2 separate regions of the Homo sapiens genome follow, and region 1 is linked to region 2. The links are contacts of gene promoters, found by promoter capture Hi-C in human tissues and cell types (Jung and others, 2019). All regions are on one chromosome and are shown on one strand. Each heading gives the region's core, a stretch centred on a gene start or on the middle of the fragment in contact. The rest is flanking DNA. Distances are from core to core; before and after follow the strand shown. Region 1 overlaps NPFFR1 (neuropeptide FF receptor 1). Region 2 holds the start of SGPL1 (sphingosine-1-phosphate lyase 1).

What was found. Contacts are between HindIII fragments. The study calls those that stand out against the background at their distance.
Region 1: a contact is called between a fragment that was not itself captured here and the fragment with the promoter of SGPL1 in region 2, in 1 of the 25 tissues and cell types used here (spleen).

Annotation. Positions count from the first base shown.
Region 1 is chr10:70,246,887-70,250,193 of GRCh38, reverse strand. It overlaps NPFFR1 (neuropeptide FF receptor 1), which reads left to right. Exons shown (of 4, transcript NM_022146.5): 4 at 1-2,865. Among named protein-coding and RNA genes, the nearest start is that of PPA1, 15 kb to the right of the region's middle. The HindIII fragment of the contact is 9,104 bases long and covers 1-3,307 here.
Region 2 is chr10:70,814,127-70,817,269 of GRCh38, reverse strand. It overlaps SGPL1 (sphingosine-1-phosphate lyase 1), which reads right to left and starts at 1,322. Exons shown (of 15, transcript NM_003901.4): 1 at 1,144-1,322; 2 at 390-459. The coding sequence starts at 416. RefSeq lists silencers at 907-1,016, 1,097-1,186, 1,207-1,526. The HindIII fragment of the contact is 13,423 bases long and covers 1-3,143 here.

The sequences.
Region 1 (3,307 bases), core at 269-2,768, 570 kb after region 2:
CACGTCTGTAATCCCAGCACTTTGGGAGGCTGAGGTGCGTAGATCACCTGAGGTCAGGAGTTCAAGACCAGCCTGGCCAATATGGGGAAACCCCATCTCTACTAAAAACACAAAAATTAGCCAGGCATGGTGGCACACACCTGTAGTCCCAGCTACTTGGGAGGCTGAGACACGAGAATCACTTGAACCTAGGAGGCAGAGGATGCAGTGAGCCAAAATTGCGCCACTGCACTCCAACCTGGGTGACAGAGCAAGACTGTCTCAAAAAAAAAAAAAAAAAGAAAGAAAGAAAGAAGAAAAGAAAATTTCCCTGATGACTAGTGATGCTGGGCATCTTTTTGTGTGCTTACTGCATTCTTATATCTTTTATTGTAAAGTATCTTCAAATCTTTCTTTTAAAAACATGATTTTGGCTGGGTGCGGTGGCTCACACCTGTAATCCCAGCACTTTGGGAGGCCAAGGTGGGCAGATCACCTGAGGTCAGGAGTTCGAGACCAGCCTGGTCAACGTGATGAAACCCCATCTCTACCAAAAACACAAAAATTAGCCAGGTGTGGTGATGTGCGCCTGTAATCCCAGCTACTTGGGAGACTGAGGCAGGAGAATCACTTGAACCTGGGAGGCAGAGGTTTCAGTGAGCCAAGATGGCGCCACTGCACTCCAGCCTAGGTGACAGAGTGAGATTCCATCTCAAATAATAATAATAATAATAATATTTTATTGTAGAGACTTTAGCACAAAAACTTGCCCTAACTCTAAGGGATTTTTTTGTGAATATAATTTTTTTTTTTTTGAGACAGAGTCTTGCTTTTGTTGCCCAGGCTGGAGTGCAATGACGTGATTTTGGCTCACTGCAACCTTTGCCTCCTAGGTTCAAGCGATTCTCCTGCCTCAGCCTCCTGAGTAGCTGGGATTACAGGCATCTGCCACCACACCCAGCTAATTTTTGTATTTTTAATAGAGATGGGATTTTACCATGTTGGCCAGGCTGGTCTTGAACTCCTGACCTCAGATGATCTGCCCGCCTCGGCCTCCCAAAGTGCTGGGATTACAGGCGCGAGCCACCATGCTCCACCAATGATTTTTAAATCCATTAAGAATGGGTCTAAAGCAAGGTAAGAGGATATAGTGTGATAGAAGTAGGAGGGCTATTTGAACAGATGGTTAGGAATGGCCTCTGTGAAGAGGTGATGTTTGAGTACAGATATGAAGTGAGAGAGGGAGCCATGTGACTAGCTGGGGAAGAAACAAACCCAGACAGAGAGAGCATCATGTACACAGGTTCTAAGGGAGGAGTGGGATAACTGAAAAAGGAATTAGTAGATATCAAAATGCTATTGAATTTCAATAATTAAATTTCTGGTTAACTCAAAACATGTATTCAGTGTCTATTAAAAGCCAGGCATAGGCCAGGCATGGGGGCTCATGCCTGTAATCCCAGCACTTTGGGAGGCCGAGGTGGGTCGATCACTTGAGGTCAGGAGTTCGAGACCAGCCTGGCTAACATGGTGAAACCCCATCTCTATTAAAAATACAAAAATTAGCCAAGCATGATGGCAGGCACCTGTAATCCCAGCTACTTGGGAGGCTGAGGGAGGGGAATTGCTTGAACCTGGGAGGCGGAGTTTGCAGTAAGCCAAGATAGCGCCACTGTACTCTATCCTGGGCAACAGAGTGAGACTCCATCTCAAAAAAAAAAAAAAAAAACAAAAAACAAAAAAAAAACGCCAGGCATAGTACTACGTACTTTGTGTCTGTTATTTATTTCTCACAGTGGACCATAAGCTCCATGAGGACAGGAACTATGTCTATTTCACTTACCTTTGTGGATTCAGGTAGGATATTGCCTGGTGCATAGGAGGCACTCAATAAATGTCTGTTGAATGAATGAAGTAATTAACTAAGCAGGTATTTATTATTATTCCCATACAATAGATTGGAAAAGCAAGGCTCAGAGAAGTAAAGTAACTTACTGGAGGTTATATAACCAGGAGGTCCTGAAGGTGAGACTCAAACCTTAGTCTATCTGACCACAAAGTCCAGGTTTTTGCCATTCCCCAAGCTGCTGTGGTCTCTCCTTCCTACATCTGGGAAACTGAGGTTCAGAGTAAAAGAAAGAGCCTTGATGGAGGTCTCCCATAATCCTAAAAATAAAACCAGCCAGCCACAGGCTCCAGGCTGCTGTTTTGGCCATGAGACACATTTGCATCACTTTCAATGGCTTCCAAAGATTTGGGATAGAAGGAATACCAGCAGTTTAGGTAAAAGGTTTAAATTTAGTTTGACTCAATACCACATCAAGCCCTCAAAGCAGCCACGGGCTCCCCTGCACTGTGGTCACTGAAGGAGCAAAAGCTGCTGAACTGGCTGTAGCGTCCTGCCTTGAGTTGTTTGTGTTCTCCTGCTAGCTGCAATGCCCAGGTCTTTGAATCCTGTCACCAATAAATGATGCTGTTGTCATGTGCAAGCAACCAAATTAATGTGGGTGGAAAAACCCAAGCTTAGTGATTTGGGCAAATTAGTTTATCTGTCACATAGCCAGTGGTGGTGTTAAATCACTCTCTGTTTGAGGAGTAATCACTCTCCCCCCATCACCACCCTGTCTTCCTTTCGGTGTGGAAGTTAGAACAGCCAAGTCAATCCGTTTCAGTGACTGAGCGATCTACATTTCTGTGTTTTGACTGCCCCCCAGGAGGAGTATGTTGTGTAGTGCATTTTGTTTGTCCATAGTGCTGTCTCGTGGTCCTCCGAAGCCACCTCTAATGATCATAATTGCCTCTTTTATTCTTCTCTAGTCCGTGTCTTTGCAAAATGATTCTGTTACCTATGCTATAAATTATGGAAAATAAACTCATTATGAAAGAGTTGTTTACTTTTTACGCTCCATTGCATTAGTAGTTGTTCCCTTTTGCTTCCTCACTGTGAATGAAGTTTTCAGGCAAAATAGCGATCCTTTCCAAAAAGGTAGAGAGTAGGCTATGTGACCACTAACATAACTGCAGTATTTCCATTTTGCGGATGGGTAATTAAGTTGCATGGAGGCGAAGGCATATTACTGAGGGCCCCATAGCTCCTAAGTGTTGACAGCAAAACAACATTTTAGGCTTTGTGGATGGCAGACCAGTGTTCTTAACACAACACCAAATTACCTGTTTTGTTAACTCCACATTTATAAATATTTGTGACAGTTTAGGTGAAACTTAATTCTAGCATGTTAACATGAACTCAACATACTTAGTGTCTGTTGAGTCTGGGAACATTGGACCTCTCCACAGTCCAGTGAGCAGAGACAGAAAACAGAAAAAC
Region 2 (3,143 bases), core at 73-2,572:
AGGCGGGTGGATCACCACAGGTCAGGAGTTCAAGGCCAGCCTGGCCAACATGGAGAACCCCGTCTCTACTAAAAATACAAAAATTAGCCGGGCGTGGTGGCGTGCGCCTGTAATCCCAGCTACTCAGGAGGCTGAGGCAGGAGAATCGCTTGAACCCAGGAGGCAGAGGTGGCGGTGAGCCGAGATCATGCCACTGCACCCCAGTCTGGGCAACAGAGTGAGACTCCGTCTCCAAAAAAACAAAACAAAACAAAACAAAATAAAAGGTGGCAAAACGCTCAGCTACCAAAAGCAAGCATCAGAGGTGAAATCTACACACTGGGATCCTTTGGACTAAAAAAACGGAGACAAATGCCTTGGAACCAGGAGGATGTCTGCAAAAGGCTCACCAACATCAGAAGGTCTGTGCTAGGCATCTTCCTCTTCCAGCCTCCTCTCCGCGCTCCCCTTTTTCAGACTCTGTAAAAGGGAACCAGGTTTGTTTACTTCTAGAGCTTTAAACTGTCTCGCCAGCCCGCCTAGATTCGCCAGAGCAGCCAAGTTATGGTTCTCTCCCTCCTTTGAAGGCTCAGATTTCATTCCCAGATATCACAGTCCACCCCTAGCACCCCAGACCAGCGAATCAAAATCCTGCTGCAACTAGGTTTCCCTCCCACAGCTGATGAAACTAATCCAGACCCAGACTCCCACAAAGCATTCCACCCAGGTGGAAACTAGGGGAAACGCCCCGTCTGCGCGCGATCGGGGTGGGGAGCCCAGCCCAGGCCACCTAACCCGGGCTGAAGGTGCCGAGGCTACCAGGGTCCTGCCTCCTCCGCACTCCCTTCAGAATCAGCACGGCCTCGCTCTCGTTGTCACCCCTCCCGTCGGAGGACCAGCAAATCCTGGCCGCCCATGCCTACCCCGCGGCAGGCGTGGGCTCCAGACCCGCCCCACCGCGGCCCCGCGCCCGCCCGCCGTCCACTTGCTTGGACCTCAGCGGCTGGTGCCCACGCCTTCAGCCCGCCCCCGCCCCCGCCCCGGCCGCAGCCGCCCCGCCGCCTCTGCCCGCCCTCGGCCCACCCGGCCCCTGTCCTCTCCTCACCCCGCGGCGCCTCCGTCCCGACCCTCACCGCCCCCCGGAGCCCGCGGCGGCCCCTCCACCTCCTCACGCCGGAACCAGCTTCCAGTCTCCTTCCCTCGAGCACCCGGCCGGCTCCACCTCCTGCGTCTCCCTCAGCACGCGACGGACTCGCAGGCCGCGAGACCCAGGCTCCCCTGTTGCCGCCGCCGCCGCCGAGATTGGAGGCCCGGCAGCCGCCGGCCTCGCCCCTCCCGGAAATGGCTCCGGGGGCACCGGCCCGGCTCCCGGACCCTGGCGTGCGCGGCCCCGCTGCTACCAGCCGCGCGCACGCCCAGACCCGGGCCCCACGGCCTGTGCGCGCCGCCTACCGGCCAGGCAGCGGGCTGCACCCAGACCCTCCAGTGAATGTCTCAACCAGGCCGTCCTGGGGCGGCTGTGGTATCCCGACGGTCACCAACTTCTCTTCCAAACTGCCTTGGACAAAAAACTTTCTTGTCACATTTGGTCACTTGGAGCCTCCTGAGAGAGTAGGTCTGCAGGGCATTGTACAAACTAATCCAAAACAGCCACAGAGTTGGGTCTCTTTCCTGGGCCAGGGACTTCATTTTTCCATCGAGGTCAGTGGTGCCTGAAGAAAAGCAACAAGGAAACTTATTTAATGGAAATATCATCCTCATCCTCCCCTCCACCACTGCCCCCCCCCACCCCAAAAATAAAATGGAGAGCAGAGGCTACTCTGCCATCACTACTTTCATGAGCAGTGCTGGGAATCACCTTATACACAAGTGCAAGGGCCCACTGGGATCACAAAGGTCGCCTTCATTTCCAGATGAAAAAACTAAGTCTCAGCTGGGTGTAGTGGCTTACATCGGTAATCCCGGCACTTGGGGATGCTGAGGCGGGAGGGTTGTCTGAGCCCAGGAGCTCTAGATCAGCCTGAGCAACATAGTGAGACCCCCAACTCCAAAAAGAAAAAGAAAAAACTAAGTCTCACATAGGTTTCCCATGACTTGTCCAGGTTGTCATAACATTGCTTTAGTGGTAGCAGAAGGCAGTGCAGTTACATGGAACCAACTGGTCAGTGACCTGCATTCAAGATTTTTTTTCAATAGATTTTAAAATGACACCTAGATAGACTCTTGAAATCTCTCAAACAAAAATGACACTAATGAGGGTACCCAATTCCATCCCCTTGGAAAATGTTGCCATGACACTAAAATTAGGGCATCATCACTACCGTCATTATCCACATGTAGTGCTTTCAGGATGAAATGTACTATCACAGCTGCCCTCCTCTGCATACCCCATCGGCACTTCCCACTTCCCCAGCCATAATGGTTAAGGCCCTGAAAGACTATGAACAGGTTATCTTTAGGCCTCCTCACCCCCATTCCGTCAGAACTCCCAGACATTTCTACCATCCAGAGCCCCTGACTCAGGCATGAACACCCCCATACCCTTAGCCCCCTCACTACTATTCCCCAGCAGACATGCATTCTCAGTGTTTGAGGGTCAGAAAATGTTCTGGGGCCTCCTGCCAATGCCTACTCATCAAGAGTTGCTTTAGGGTTTCAGGTATGCCTTCCCATTCTCCATCTCCTACCCTTCTGCTTTAATTCTTCATCAGATCCCCCAGGAACTGCACACCTCCTCTCCATCTCCTTGTTAGTTACCACCCCCACATCCTTTAATCTAGAATCTGTGCACCCAGATGACTAGAGGGCAGGGTCACGTCTGATTCCTCCCTACACCCTAACACACAGTATGCAGTCTGCTCATTCTTCCCAGATGCTCAAACCAATGCAATCATATCGACTGATCCTTGCTTTGCCAAGAACTATGCTAGGCACCTTTACATACAAGCCTTATTTATGGCCTGACTTGCCCAGATCAGGTGACTCTTATCATCCCTCAACCTGTAAACAAGGACACCAAGACCAAAGAAGGAAATGATCCTCCCAAAGACACACAGGCAGGATGGGGTGGAGTTTGTGTGGGAGTTTGGAGGGGAAGCCAAGGGTTCAGAATTTGTAGCGGGGACCTCGAATATCCTTTTTGGTTAATTAGAATCAAAAAATGG